Regions from separate parts of the Homo sapiens genome. Here region 1 is linked to region 2. The links are contacts of gene promoters, found by promoter capture Hi-C in blood cells and fetal thymus (Javierre and others, 2016). All regions are on one chromosome and are shown on one strand. The core of a region is centred on a gene start or on the middle of the fragment in contact, and the rest is flanking DNA. Distances in the headings are between cores, read along the strand shown. Region 1 holds the start of WFDC5 (WAP four-disulfide core domain 5). Region 2 holds the start of PI3 (peptidase inhibitor 3).

Evidence for each region. Contacts are between HindIII fragments. The CHiCAGO score rates a contact against its expected background, and 5 or more counts as called.
Region 1: the fragment with the promoter of WFDC5 here is called in contact with the fragment with the promoter of PI3 in region 2 in 3 of 17 cell types (M0 macrophages, M2 macrophages and M1 macrophages); the score reaches 7.4 in M0 macrophages.

What each region holds. Positions count from the first base shown.
Region 1 is chr20:45,110,437-45,117,927 of GRCh38, forward strand. It overlaps WFDC5 (WAP four-disulfide core domain 5), which reads right to left and starts at 4,738. Exons shown (of 4, transcript NM_145652.4): 1 at 4,563-4,738; 2 at 199-339; 3 at 1-104. The coding sequence starts at 4,647. RefSeq lists enhancers at 4,174-4,675, 4,676-5,175. The HindIII fragment of the contact is 2,929 bases long and covers 2,958-5,886 here.
Region 2 is chr20:45,169,831-45,177,159 of GRCh38, forward strand. It overlaps PI3 (peptidase inhibitor 3), which reads left to right and starts at 5,072. Exons shown (of 3, transcript NM_002638.4): 1 at 5,072-5,171; 2 at 6,031-6,306; 3 at 6,540-6,714. The coding sequence starts at 5,093. The coding sequence ends at 6,305. RefSeq lists an enhancer at 4,662-5,861. The HindIII fragment of the contact is 9,599 bases long and covers 356-7,329 here.

The DNA.
Region 1 (7,491 bases), core at 3,488-5,987, 60 kb before region 2:
GTGGCAGCATCGCTTTTTGCCCGAGCAGTCTGAGTCCTTGTGACACAGGTGGTTCATGGGGCTGAGGCAGCGCAGTTGGTCCTCTGGGCAGCTGCCCAGCTTCACTGCAACACAGGGAACTGGGTGAGCTCCGTCCTTGCCCACTGGCCCTGAAGCTTGGGGCTTGGATGGTCAGCAAGGTGGAGGGGAGGCATTTACCAGAGACCCTGGGGACACACTGGCGGAAGCAAGCTCTGTAGCAGCACTTCCTGGTCAAGGGACACTGGCTGTCTTCCACGCACTGGTCAGGCACCGATAGGAGGCAGGGCCCATCATCTGGCGGGCAGCCCCCCGATTTCTCTGTAAGAGAATCTCCTAATATTGCAGCTGGAGGAAGCTCACGGTTATGTAATAAGCGCTGACCTGGGAATGACAAGACTGAATTCTCCATCCCTTGCTTTTTGCCTGTCTTTTGGCTAGTTGTTATTTTTGTTTGTTTGTTTGTTTATAATGACTCCAAGCCTCAGTTTTCTGGCTGTGAAATGGGAAGCTGGGCTAGTTTGAGACTCAGATGGCACAAATGACAGGGGAAAATGAAGCCCAACATCTCCACTGTGGCCAATAAGGCCATGCCTGGTCTGGGCCCTGCCCATCTCTCTAGCCCCATCCTCTACTGCCCTCCCACTCAGTGCCTCCTGATCTGCTCCAAGCCAGCTCTCTCTGCAGGGCTCTTGCTCGGGCCGCATCCTTTGCCTAGTGCACTTCTCCTGTACTCCATGCGCCTGGTCAGCTCATTAGGACTCAGCAGAAACATCGCATCCTCAGAAGACCCTACTTCTCTGACCCCACATTAACTAGGTCAGCGCCCCCCCACCCCGGCCCCCACACACACACTCATTTCTTTCCTCCAGAGTTTGTGATGCTGCATCTGTTTGTCTGTGTCTCTCACTTGGCTGGAGGTGAGGAGAGTAGACACCCTGCCAGCTTTGCTCACCGTTGGTCCATATCACAGCCCTTGGCGCACAGCAGTAGGGCTCAGTGACTTGGAAAGAAAGGGTTTTGAAGTGAGGCCCAGCATTGCACGTGCGTCAGCAGTGGCCAGCCTGGTGCACTGTCACAGCCACAGCTGGCCACGTCTTCTGCACCGTTGCGTTCATCACTGTTGCAAATGGCATGGTTTCGAGGATCAGGCGTTAACTCTGTCTCTGAGGCGTTCCTCTGAATGGTATAGAGTGTCCTGTCCCAGAGCTTACCTAACATTCTTCTTGCTGGGATTTTGGGCCATGTTCATATTTCATGCACAAAGCTGGAAATCAGTATCCTCCTCCATGTAGAGGAGGAAATCAAGGCCTGAAAAGGGCAGTGACTTGTCCAGACCCACATGGGCTGGGCTTAGGACTCCCAGGGCCCGGCTCCCTCTGACCTCTGTGAGTGTCCACCCTGAGCTGTCTTTGAGCTGTAGGGATGGAGCAGGTCCCAGGTCTTCAATTCAATCCAGCATCAGAGAAAATGTTCAAGAGTTCCGAGGGGCAGCTGGATCTGGTTCTGTGACTTTACCTCTGTGTCCGCCCCTCCCCCTCAGCCCCCTGCCTGGGTGCTGGCTGCACACATAAGTAGGCACCTTGCTCACATCCTACGTGCGCTAAGTCAACTTCAGCTGTCACATCGGGTTGGTTTAAATTAAATTGCTGCCCCCTGCTGGAGAAAGAGAGGCTTGGCGTGGGGAGGGGGAAAAAGTGTGGGTTTGGGGTGGTGGGGGTGATGGGAGGGTTCCTGGGAAACTGTCTGAGGTCCAAGGTTTAGCCCTGAATTCACAAGTCCAAGTCAAAGGTGCGCAGGCCTCAAAGGGTGGGCCAAACGGAGCTGCGTGCACTCAAAGCCGGTGGAGCCGGGTGGGTCAGGCAGGGAGAGCTTCTGTGGCGAGGGGCCTGGGGCTGGCCTTGGGGAATGGACAGATAGGGATGGGGCATGACAGCTGGCATTTCCAGTGGAAGAACTGCGATAGCTGCAATGTGGAGGTGGGGATAAAAGCCTGGCGTGTGCAGAGCCGGCGTGAGAGGCTCTGGGTGGTCACACTCACTCTGTTTGCCTGCCTTTCCTAACAGTCCCTCCAAACCAGGTTCTCCACTCACAGATGTGTACATCGAGACAGTCACACACACAGATGGTCATCCAGATGCATGCGCCATGGGTGTGTAGACTTAGAGAGCAAAAGAATCGTATCCAAACATGGTTAAATATATACACTTGTACACACAGACGATACACACATAGTCAAATACACAAGCACATTTAGATCTAGACACACAATTAGCTACAGGCTTAACAGTAGGAAACTGCAGATAGTCAACTGTTTTATCTACAAAAGTAGCAATTTTACATGGTTCAACTTAATACACACATATATACATATGGACATATATCAGAGAGTTATATATATGCAATATATTTATAAACATATATAAACAGGCAGTCATGTATGTACATATGAGCTGGAACATAATCACTGTCATTTACACATGCCTACCCACATAGATACATACACACAGATAGACACTCAGACACACACAGTTATGTATATAAATATATAAATATATAGCATATGTATGTGAACAGAGAGACATACATAAGCATACACAGTCATATATACAGAATCATATGCACAGAGCTACACAGACACATATATCTTCCCAATACCACATAACCACTGACAGCATTTAATTAGGCACTTGCTGTTTATCAGGGACTATGCCAGGCTCTTTGTATCAGAGACACCCAGACGTTTGAGTGAGAAGGGGGCAGAATGGGGAGCTCTTATAAACAGAGGCGGCTGGGCTTCCACAGGCAACAAACTGAGACTTCCCTTCCCTTGGCTTCGTCACCTTCCTCCATTGTCTGAAATTCTACCAACAGCTCGGCAATGTCTTACAGGAGAGAAACCAGTGGGGGACAAGGTGTGGTGAACTGGGGGAGAGACAAGCTTGTCACACCTGCCCATGCAGAGTGGCCCTGCGCAGGCTCGGTTTCTGCTGTGCCAGCTCTTTGCCTCTGAGCAGCTGGGCTGAATATTGGGGTGTGCTCCCTGGGAACACAATGACTCCCCCAAATCACCCACTTATGCTGTGCTTACTGTGTGCCAGGCCCTTATTCCTCGAGACACCATTTACTCCTGAGAGAGAGGCATGGGACCCCATTTTACAAGGAGTAAGTCTCCAGACCTGTCCTGTTGCCTTCCAGGAGTGTCCTGCCTGGAAGTCCTAATAAACTCATGCACTTGCCAATCTGGCCTTGTCTAAGTCATTCTTTGTTCTCTCAGCTCCTTCCTATGTTGGGGGTGCATTGTCCTGTACAGTCCTGGGTTTTTGCTGTAATAGTTGGTAAAGTGAATCTTTCTGATTTCAAATACTTGCACTCATGCACTTGCTAATCTGGCCTTGTCTAAGTCATTCTCTGGTCTCTCAGCTCCTTCCTATGTTGGGGGTGCATTGTCCTGTACAGTCCTGGGTTTTTGCTGTAATAGTTGGTAAGGTGAATCTTTCTGATTTCAAATACTTGCATTCAAATGCCACATTTGGCACTAACTCAGAGTCAGTCTTTGACCTTGTTAAGTGGTTCCCCGCTATGCCTCAATTTTCCTCATCTGCAAAATGGGGATGAAAATAGTCCTGTCCTCACAGCACCTTGTCGAGGAGTTACGTGATGATGGTGCATGAATCACAGCCAACACAGGGTCCAGCCTTGGAGCTCACCAGTGTACTTCCTTCCTCAGCCTGTCCCCATTACTGTCCCCTTTCTTTAAGGCAGGGCAAGGGTTGCACAGGTGAATGTAGGTTGGAGTGTTCCAGCCCCAGAAAAGGACGCAGGTGGAGGCCTCACCCAGATCAGGAGTCACCTGTCTAGCCACTCAGCAGCCCTCCCTCACCTGTCAGCAGGCCAGCCCCAGCCTTGTCAGGGGTGGGAATGGGGACAGGAGGTTGGGGGCGATGAGAGTTAGAGACAGAGCTTCCTCCCCACAAAGCCCAGATCCCAGAAGCCACACCCTCTCCTCAATTCCCAAGTCCCTTCCACAGATGGGGTGGTGGACCCACTGACCCAGTCACACCACAGCCCAGCAGGCACAGACAGGGTCCCTCCCCACACCTGAAGGCACAGAGACACACATGGACAGGCACCAAGCTCAGACACATGCGTGCAGCCATTCCTAAGTGTACGTGTGCAGACAGAGCTTTGCACAGACAAGCAGACGCAAAGACACATGTCTACACAGACACAGGCACATGCATTCCCCGCCCTGCCACCCCCTGACATATAGACAGGCACAGACAAGCACCGAGAAACTGGCAGAAAAGACACTTACAGATACCAACACAGGCAGGTGGACAGGCACAAATGTACACACATAAAAACACAGGCTTCTGAAAGCACTAAGAATCAGGCATCCACACATACACACACGCACGCACGCACACACACACGCGCACACACACCCCACAGGGCATTACCTGCCTTCCCCCAAACCCTTACTCTCCCTAGAGAAGTAGAGACAATCTGGTCCCCCCAGCAGAGGGATTTCCCGCACTCACCTCCCTTCTTCCTGCCAAAGACAGCAGGCAGCTGACTCCCCACAGCCAGGAGGGCCCCCAGGAGGAGAAGGCTCTGGGTCCTCATATTTCTGCTGCCGGCTCAGGGCCCAGGGCCCCCCAGATTAACACCTGCAGCCTCAGGGAAGCCAGAGAAACTTAGTCAGGAGAGGAAAGAGAGGGGGTGTGGAGTGACACCGTGCCTGCTTCATCTTGGCCCCACCCCCTGAGGGCCCGAGGACTCAGTGCAAGGGATGCTGTCACAATAGCTGAAGATAGGGTGGCGGCACATCCTGCATGTGGGGGACTCAGATCCAGTCTTGCCTGTATCGGTGACTTGGGCTGTGATCTTGGGCAAGTCTTGTCTCTCTGGGCTTCAGTTTTTTCATCTGTACACAGGGTGAAGGTTGTTGAGGCAGATGCTTGCTATCCTGGCTCTCAAAGATGTTGAAGCCCCAGCGATGTCTAGGCAGCGGGTAGAGGTCAGCTTTGAATAGCAAAGGAGTGGGGGTTTGCAGAGTTCTGGATGCCTAGGAAGGGAGAAGGCATTAGGGTTAGGCCAGAGCTTGCAGCCAAAGAAGGCTGGCCCAGGCTGGCATAATGAGTGAGGCCAGCCCTGGCCTCTCCTCTTGGGTCCTGTGGATGGGAGAAAGACCACCCCGCCTTTGGTGAGATCACCAGTGGCTTCTGATAGAACTGCCCTCTTCCTGGGGCTGGCTTGGCTGTTGAGGGTGGGGGAGCATGGCTTTTGGCTTGGCTAAGTTTGCTGGTCACAGCAGATGTGTGGCCACTGGAACCTCTTCTCTGGCCCTAAGGGATCCTGAGCAAAAAAATGTCATCTCATCCAGGGACCCCCACCTTAGATTTCGTATCTCTGATGTTGCCTCCTGCATTTGGTAGAAGAGAGGGAGCTGAGACTTGGCATCCTAAGGGACATCCTAAACAGAAACTCCATCGAAGTACATTCTCTCAGCCTTCTCATTTGAAAGACGAGGAAACTGTGAGATAGAGATGAGAGGGGACTGGCCCAAGGACACGCAGCTAATTCCTGACTAAGCTGGGACTTCCCACTGTGGCCTCCCCATCACCCTCATTCAGTTCCTGGGTTTTAAAAGCAGGTCAATACCTCATCTGATCCTGAGAAAGGAGGGTGATATTACAGGGCTTGTCTCACTTACCCATTCCAATCCAGGACAGCCCTGGCAGCAGGAAGTTCTTCCTTGGGTTTAATGTGAATCTCTCGTGCTGTCTTCTAAGCTATTAAGATAGGAGAGGCTCTGTCTTCTATGATCTGATGTTGCTTTTGGAATGCTGGCACCTCCTTGGAAGCTTTATTTTGGAGGACAAATATATGAGCCCTTCCTTCCTCCCTCCCTCCACCCCTCCCTCCCTCCACCCCTCCCTCCCTCTTTCTTTCTTTTTTCTTTTCTTTCTTTCTTTTTCTTTTTCTTTCTTTCCTTTTTTCATTTCTTTCTTCTTTCTTTCCTTCTTTCCTCTCTTTCTTTCCTTTCTCTTTCTTTCTTTTCTTTCTTTCTTCTTTCTTTTTCTTTCTTCTTTCTTTCCTTTTTTATTTCTTTCTTCTTTCTTTCCTTCTTTCCTCTCTTTCTTTCCTTTCTCCTTCTTTCTTTCTTTCTTTCTTTCTTTCTCTCCTTCTCCTTCTTCTTTCCTCTCTCTCTTTCTCTTTCTCTCTCTGTCTTTGACAGAATGTCGCTATGTCACCCAGGCTGGAGTGCACAGTGCCATCATGGCTCACTGAACCCTTGACCTCATGGACCCAAGTAGTCCTCCTGCCTCAGCCTCCTGAGTACCTGGGACTATAGGCATGCGCCCCAATATTTGGCTAGTTTTTATTTTTTGTAGAGATGGGGGGTCTTCCTATGTTGCCTAGGCTGGTCTCTAACTCTAGGACTCAAGTGATTCTCCCACCTTGGCCTCCCAAAGTGCTGGGATTCCAGGGGTGAGCCACTGTGCTCAGCCATGAAATGCTCTTTTTTTTTTTTTTTTTTTTTTTTTTGAGACGGAGTCTTCCTCTGTCATCCAGGCTGGAGTGCAATGGGGCAATCTCTGCTCATTGCAACCTCCGTCTCCTGGGTTCTAGCAATTCTCTGCCTCAGCCTCCCAAGTAGCTGGGACCACAGGCGCCCGCCACCATGCCTGGCTAATTTTTTGTATTTTTAGTAGAGACGGGGTTTCACCATGTTGGTCAGGCTGGTCTTAAACTCCTGAATTCAGGTGATCCACCCGCCTCGGCCTCCCAAAGTGTTGGGATTACAGGCATGAGCCACCATGCCAATGCTTTTTAAATTAAAATTATTTTGTAGACATTTTCCTGTGCTGTGAAATGTTCTCTAAACATCATGTTTTCTGATGGCTACATGCTGTTTTGTTAGATCTATATGTCAAAACATCACTTCAGTAAAGTTTTTAGGGAAAAAAGATATGCCAAAATATACACAATCAGTATCCTATTATGAAACATGGAGGTTTCCAATTTTCCACTTTCATAAATAAAGCTGTGATAACCATCTTTTTGTGTACATTTTGGAGTCACATCTCTGACTGTTTTCTTAAAGTAAATTTGTCAAAGTTAGAAATGCTAGGTCAAAAGGCACAGTCATGTTTCCAGGCGTTGGATATATCTGGTCAAATTAAATTTCAGAAAGGAAGTAAGTGAGTGTACAAGAGCCTCCACCTGCCCTGCCATAGACCTCTATTGTTTCGTCTGCCCAGCGTCTCTTCCTTTGGTGGAACCATTGCCTCCTGACTGCTGTCATTCTGGTTGGTTGCCAATCAGCAGGTACTTCTCCTATCAAAGCTGAGGGCACTGGATCCAGGTTACACCCACTGCACTCTTCTCCACCCCTAACTTGCCCACGCCTTCATTAGAGTCTTGAACAGATAAGCCAGTTCTCTAAACAGAACAGTCCAAAGC
Region 2 (7,329 bases), core at 3,822-6,321:
ATTACAGAGCCCAGAAATAATTAATGCTGCAAACCTACAACTATCTAATCTTCAACAAAATCAACAAAAAAAGAAACAATGGGGGAAGGGACTTCCTATTAAATAAATGATTCTGGAATAACTGGCTAGCCATATGCAGAAGACTGAAATTGTACCCCTTCCTTAAACCATATACAAAAATCTACTCAAGATGTATTAAAGACTTAAATGTAAAACATAAAACTATAAAACCCTGCAAGGTAACCTAGGAAATATGATTCTGGACGTAGAACTTGGTAAATATTTCATGATGAAGATGCCAAAAGCAATAGCAACAAAAACAAAACTTGACAAATAGGACCTAGTTAAACTAAAAAGCTTCCGCACAGCAAAAGAAACTATCAGCACAGTAAACCAACAACCTACAGAATAGAAGAAAATATTTGTGAGCTATGTGTCCAACAAAGGTCTAATATCCAGAATCTATAAGGAACTTAAACCAGTTAACAAGCAAAAAACAGACAACCCCATTAGAAAGTGGGCAAAGGACATGAACAGAAACTTCTCAAAAGAAAACATACATGTTGCCAACAAACAAATGAAAAAATGCTCAACATCACAGATCATTAGAGAAATGAAAATCCAAACAGTAATTGAGATAGCATCTCACACCAGTCGTTATAACATAACATATGCTGTCAAGGTTGTAGAGAAAAGGGAACATTTATACACTGCTGGTAGGAATGTAAATTAGTTCAGCCAGCATGGAAAGCAGTATGGCAATTTCTCAAAGAACTTAAAACAGAATTACCATTCAACCCAAGATATTCCATTAATGGTTATATACCCAAAGGAATATAAATCATTCTATCATAAAGACACATCCATGTAGTATGTGAATCACAGAACTATTCACAGTATCAAAGACATAGAATCAACCTAATTGCTCATCAATGATAGACTGGATAAAGAAAATGTGGTATGTAAACACCATAGAATACTACGAGTCATAAAAAAGAACAAGATCATGTCCTTTGCAGCAACATGGATGGAGCTGGAGGCCATTATCCTAAGCAAACTTTCACAAGAACAGAAAAGAAAATACCACATTTTCTCACGTATAAATGAAAACTGAACATTGAGTACATATGGACACAAAGAAGGGAACAATGGACACTAGGGCCTACTTGAGGGTAGAGAATGGGAGGAGCGTGAGGATCAAAACACGAATCGAGTACTATGCTGATTACCTGGTGATGAAATACTTCTGCACACGAACCCCCCCATGACATGAAATTTACCTATACAACAAACCTGCACATGTACCCCTGAAACTAAAATAAAAGTTAAAAATAAAACCCCAAAATTAGACACACAGTCTGTTCATGAGGCTTGATGGAAACAGCAGGCAAGTTTATCCACTACTGGTGGGATTACAATATGGTACAACCCCTATCAAGGGAAATATGGCAATATTATCAAAATTTCAAATGCATTTCACCTTTGTATAAGCAAATATACTTCTGGGAATCTGGTTCACAAGAAAGCAAGCTAAGAAAGGCCACATGTGGTATAGTTTGTAATGGCAAAATATTGGAAACAACTTGCGAGGGTAGCAATGTGGGTTTATTGAAAGCTAAGGTAGTCTATAAATGATTCGCTCTGCAGCTTTCTCTCTCTCTCTCTCTCTCCAAGCAATCAAAGAACTAGAACATTACTAATAACCAACAACTTAAATCAACCCGTGTCCTTCTCACCCATCCAGAATGTTTTCTTCTCTCGTTTCCAGAGTTAGCCACTATCTTGTATGTCATTTTTATAGTTTTTTCATTTTTTATGTATCCCTTTTTGAGCTTTGCTTCATATGTAAATATGCCTAGGCAATATATTTCCCAGTTCTCCTTCATTTGAGTTTTATGACAAGTGGGTAATTCTAAATATTGTCACTGTGGACTTGTGTTGTTTATTCAACATTATTTTAATTATGGTCATATTGTGCATGGCTGTAATTCAGTTATTTTCATAATTGTATAATACTTCCTTGCATTAATATGTCATGACATATTTATGCATTAATATGTCATGACATATTTATCCAGTATTTTAGTATTGGTAACATGGACTGTTTCCAGTATGTTATTGTTAAAAACAGTACTTTTATGAACATTATTGTGCATGTTTCTTGGTAAACATGTGGAAATATTTTCCTTAATTAAATCTTTAGGAGTGCAATTGCTGAATTATAGATTGTGTACACATTCAATTTTACTAGCTGATGTCAAACTGTTTTTAAATGTTTCACCAATATAGACTCTCATTAGTAATGCATAAAAGTTTCTTTTCTACTACAAATCAATAAGAAAAGATAAACAACCCATTCAAATCTAAAATAAAAGTTGAAATTAAATAAATAAGTAAATAAAAGGTAAGATACTTGAATTGGCACTTCACAAAAGAGGATAGCCAAATGGATAATAGAAATATTAAAAATGGGCCGGGTGCAGTGGCTCATGTCTGTAATCCTAGCACTTTGGGAGGCCAAGGCAGGTGCATCATCTGAGGTCAGCGGTTCGAGACAAGCCTGACCAACATGGTGAAACTGCAAAATATAAAAATTAGCTGGGCATGGTGGCATGTGCCTGTAATCCCAGCTACTTGGGAGGCTGAGGCAAGAGAATCACTTGAACCTGGGAGGTGGAGGTTGCAGTGAGCTGAGATTGTGCCATTGAACTCCAGCCTGGGTGACAAGAGCGAAATTCCATCTCAAAAAAAAAAAAAAAAAAAAAAGGAGTATTAAAAATGGGTCAGCTTCACCAGTTATTAGGAAAGTGTAAATTCAAATCACAGGAAATCCCACAAGATGTCCACCTGAATGGCTAATGAAAAGGCAAATCATATGAGGCATTGGTGAGATTATGGAGCAAATGGAATGCTCACACATTGCTGATAGCAGTGTGAATTGGTACAATGATGTTGGAAAATTGATTGCAGTATTTATGACAGCTGGATGTATCTATACTCTGTGATCTGTACTCTGTGATCCAGCAATTCCATTCCTAACCATATATCCAAAATAAATGCATACCTATGTTCTGCAAGAGATATGTACAAGAATATTCATAGCAACACTATAATAGCTAAAACCTAGAAATATCCAATGTATATTGACAGTAGAATGAATATATAACATTTTTGGTATTTTTCATAGAATACTGTACAGCAGTGAAAATGATGAACTACAGGTGTAGACTTCAAAATGGATGACTCTCAAAAATATAATGTTGAGCAACATAAGCAGGACATATGAACACTATACCTTAGATTTCATTTACATACAAATTGAAAAAGTATACTAAACTGAATATATATTTCAGAATACAGACAGAAGTGGCATAACTATAAAGGAAAGCAAGGGCTAATTACCATAAAATCTTAGGAAGCAGTTATCTCTGGGGAGGAAGGAGAATGAAGCAACTGAGGAGAGGCATGGAGCATAGATATAGCAAATATTCTCCTCCTTTACCTGGCAGCTCATTTTAATGCTATTCTTTAAAGAATATAGGTATTTTCTGTGAGCTTTTTATTTGTTTGTATGGCTTATTGTACAATGAGCTTTTGTGTAAGGTAGCCAAAGGCTTCCACAGTCTGACATTCGTTTATGTCTCCCTCAGTTTCAGGCTTGGTGGGCATGTGGTCAGAGTCTAAATCGACAAGGGGTGGGGATTTCACCAGCTGAATTAGTGTCCAATAATTAGTTTGTTACCTTCCCTGCCTTAACTCCACCTCAACTCAGTGACTTTCTTAACTCAGATTCTGTCCCTGACAATACCCAACTTCAGGATATTCATTTCTATTACTCAGAACTTTTGGTAACAATGACAGAATAGTAAGTCAGACTAGCTGAAGCAGAGGGCTAATTTATTGCCTCATAACCCAACCATGAGAAGGGTGTGTGAAGAACTGCTCTCAAGGTAAAGGAGGGAAACCTGGCTGTGTCATCTGAATCTTCTCTCACCATCACTTCTCTCCTTGTCTCAGTGTATTAGAGTCGTTTTTCTCAGACAATTGATCTCCACCCCCAGACTTAGATAACCACTTCTGGAATTCCCTGGTTCATATATATCACCTTTTCCAGAAGAAGGAACCCCCGTTTTCCCCTTTCATTACTCATTCAAATAAAATATGTTAATAGACCAGACCAAGTCTCACACACAACACACACACACACACTCACACACACACACACACACACACACCCCTACCTGTGGTCAGGGGTCAGGCTTTCATGATTAGCAGTCCCCATTAGACTCACAAGTTGATGGTTCAAAGAGACAACAATTCTTCACAAGAAACAGGGTGCTGTTCAAAGAAGTGGGGAGGCATGCTGGACACACACACTGTAGATGTCCAATGTATACATGATACATGTTTTCTACTACTTTCTGATTATTTTCTCCCTACCACTGTGATTTCAAGGGCATCATCCCTCTTCAGACCTAGAATTCCACCTTCCAATTACTTTCTTGATGCATCTGAAAGGCCGTCTCTGAAACAGCAAAGTGCAATAATTAGTCATTATGTATTCAAGGCAAATTTGTCTTACAGAGTTTTTTGCAGGACCAGGGAAGAAGGAAGGAAATGCCCAGTTTGATGCTGGGAGTGGTAAAATGATAAAGTAGATCTGGGTGGGGTTTGTAGCACCAGAGCATAATGGAGAAACACCTTGGTTTTGTAATCAAGACTGGATCTACCAGTGACTTGCTGAATAACCTTCGGTGATTCCTTTCTCTTCTTGGGTCTCACTGTATTTCAAAACATGAAGAATTTCATTGTAATGTTACCTAATAAGTGAGCCAGCACTTCTACTCTGTGAGAAAGTAGGAAAACTCTTGGGACAATCAGAGATGATGTGATGTAATGTCCATTAGTTCTTCCTGTGAATAATCCTGAGGGAAAGCCCCCAGGTCCCTCCCAGAATGGGGTGGATATTTCCCAATACAGCTAAGGAATTATCCCTTGTAAATACCACAGACCCGCCCCTGGAGCCAGGCCAAGCTGGACTGCATAAAGATTGGTATGGCCTTAGCTCTTAGCCAAACACCTTCCTGACACCATGAGGGCCAGCAGCTTCTTGATCGTGGTGGTGTTCCTCATCGCTGGGACGCTGGTTCTAGAGGCAGCTGTCACGGGAGGTGAGTGAACAGGTGACCTGCTGGGCTGGGTTGGACTAAGGGGAGACCCTCTGGGACACCCTGGGCCAGGACAGGGAGCACTTCTGAAGCAGTAGGCAGCACTGGAGCCCAGATTTCAGCTTTCTGTTCTTTGCCATCATATTCAGAAAAAATAGGACTTTGGCTGGTGGACTCCACGTGCTTTCCACCTCAGTGACTGAGATATCAGGACTGTTTGTGGAAGTAATGTTGGTATGTGGCCTTGGCCTCAGATGTCAATACCTGTGCAGAATGTGCAATAAAATAATGAACTCCAGGATTTTAAACCTTGGGTGTGGACACAGTCCCCCGTTTCTCTGCCCCATAAAAGCACTGGAGTAATCAGTACTCTAAAAGGAGGTTAAGAAACAACAAGCCTTCAGGAATCATGTTGTTTGAGGACCCCCATTTTATAAGGAGGGAACCAAAAATGTAGAAATGAGTGAGCAATTGCCAAGGTAATTCCCAGAGCCAGGATGGGGCTCAAGTCTCCTAGTATGTGGCTCAGGGTTCTTTCCTACTCCAATGCACTTCCTAACAAATGACAATGTGTCCTCTTCACTGCTGGGTGTCACCCCAGTCTGACCACTGCTCCTGAGAGACTTGGAGTGGAGGAAGGGGGAAGAAACAAATACTCAAGGGAACTCTGGTCCAGTAGACCACCCCAAAAAAGGAAGAGCCTTCCAAGAGTGTAGCTCCCAGAGGTGTACCTTCCCTACTCAGGCCATGGTTTGAGGATGCTGCAGTAAGCAGTGGATGGACCCAGACCCAGAGGAAAGACATGGCAGCTGAAGCAGAGGCTTACTGGGTATAAATGTGGGCTCGTTTCTTCTTTTAACAGTTCCTGTTAAAGGTCAAGACACTGTCAAAGGCCGTGTTCCATTCAATGGACAAGATCCCGTTAAAGGACAAGTTTCAGTTAAAGGTCAAGATAAAGTCAAAGCGCAAGAGCCAGTCAAAGGTCCAGTCTCCACTAAGCCTGGCTCCTGCCCCATTATCTTGATCCGGTGCGCCATGTTGAATCCCCCTAACCGCTGCTTGAAAGATACTGACTGCCCAGGAATCAAGAAGTGCTGTGAAGGCTCTTGCGGGATGGCCTGTTTCGTTCCCCAGTGAGGTGAGCACTAGCTGGAGAACGAGGAGACCCCTGAAGACACAAAAGAAGGCTGAGCGGTGGGGAAGCATCCCAGGTTGGTGGGAGGGAGGTTGTGGGAGGTGACAGAAAGACTGGGAGACTGAGGGGTCTGAGAGGCTATAACCAGAGTGCCTAGAAGGATGATCTGTCTTCCTCACTGCCTCTGAGTGCTTTGATGTGCTGACTCTCACCTCTGATACTCTTCTCTTCCACAGAGGGAGCCGGTCCTTGCTGCACCTGTGCCGTCCCCAGAGCTACAGGCCCCATCTGGTCCTAAGTCCCTGCTGCCCTTCCCCTTCCCACACTGTCCATTCTTCCTCCCATTCAGGATGCCCACGGCTGGAGCTGCCTCTCTCATCCACTTTCCAATAAAGAGTTCCTTCTGCTCCACTTGTTTCTGGTTCCTATGACTTCTGGGCTCCTGGATGCTTTGGGGAAATGGATGTAGAATTGGGACTTCTTCTCTCCAGTGAAGAGGGGAAACGGTCCCATGGTGAAAGAGAGCAGGGCGGGGGGAGGAAACAGGAGGCACATTGCTAGGGCTTCATATTACAAATCCAATAATCAGCCCCAGTGCTGCCAGCTCCTTTTCACCAGGAAATGGAAATATGGAAATCTTGCCTTTGGCCAAGGACCAGGAAAAACACAAAACACAAAAAATAAATAAACATTACATAAACCATAAGCAGGTCTTTTTTTTCCAATCCACCATCAGTCCTGACCTGGCTACTGTCGGCCTTACCAGTGTGACCAGCCAACCCTTATGGCTGCAACTACAGCTCCCCACTTCCTTCTCATTAATGTTTCCCAGGAATCTATATCTTTTCAACACCACATAGAAAGGATGATGTTACAGATGCTGCGAAACTCCTGCTCTTTAGAATTTCACTGGTTTATGCCTGAGATTCCTCCATGAAGTAGCATTCCTTTAGGTTAAGCAATATTCTCTTCCAGATTTCTGTTTTAAGATGTGAATGAGGAGGCAAGATACACTAAGTCCTTCAT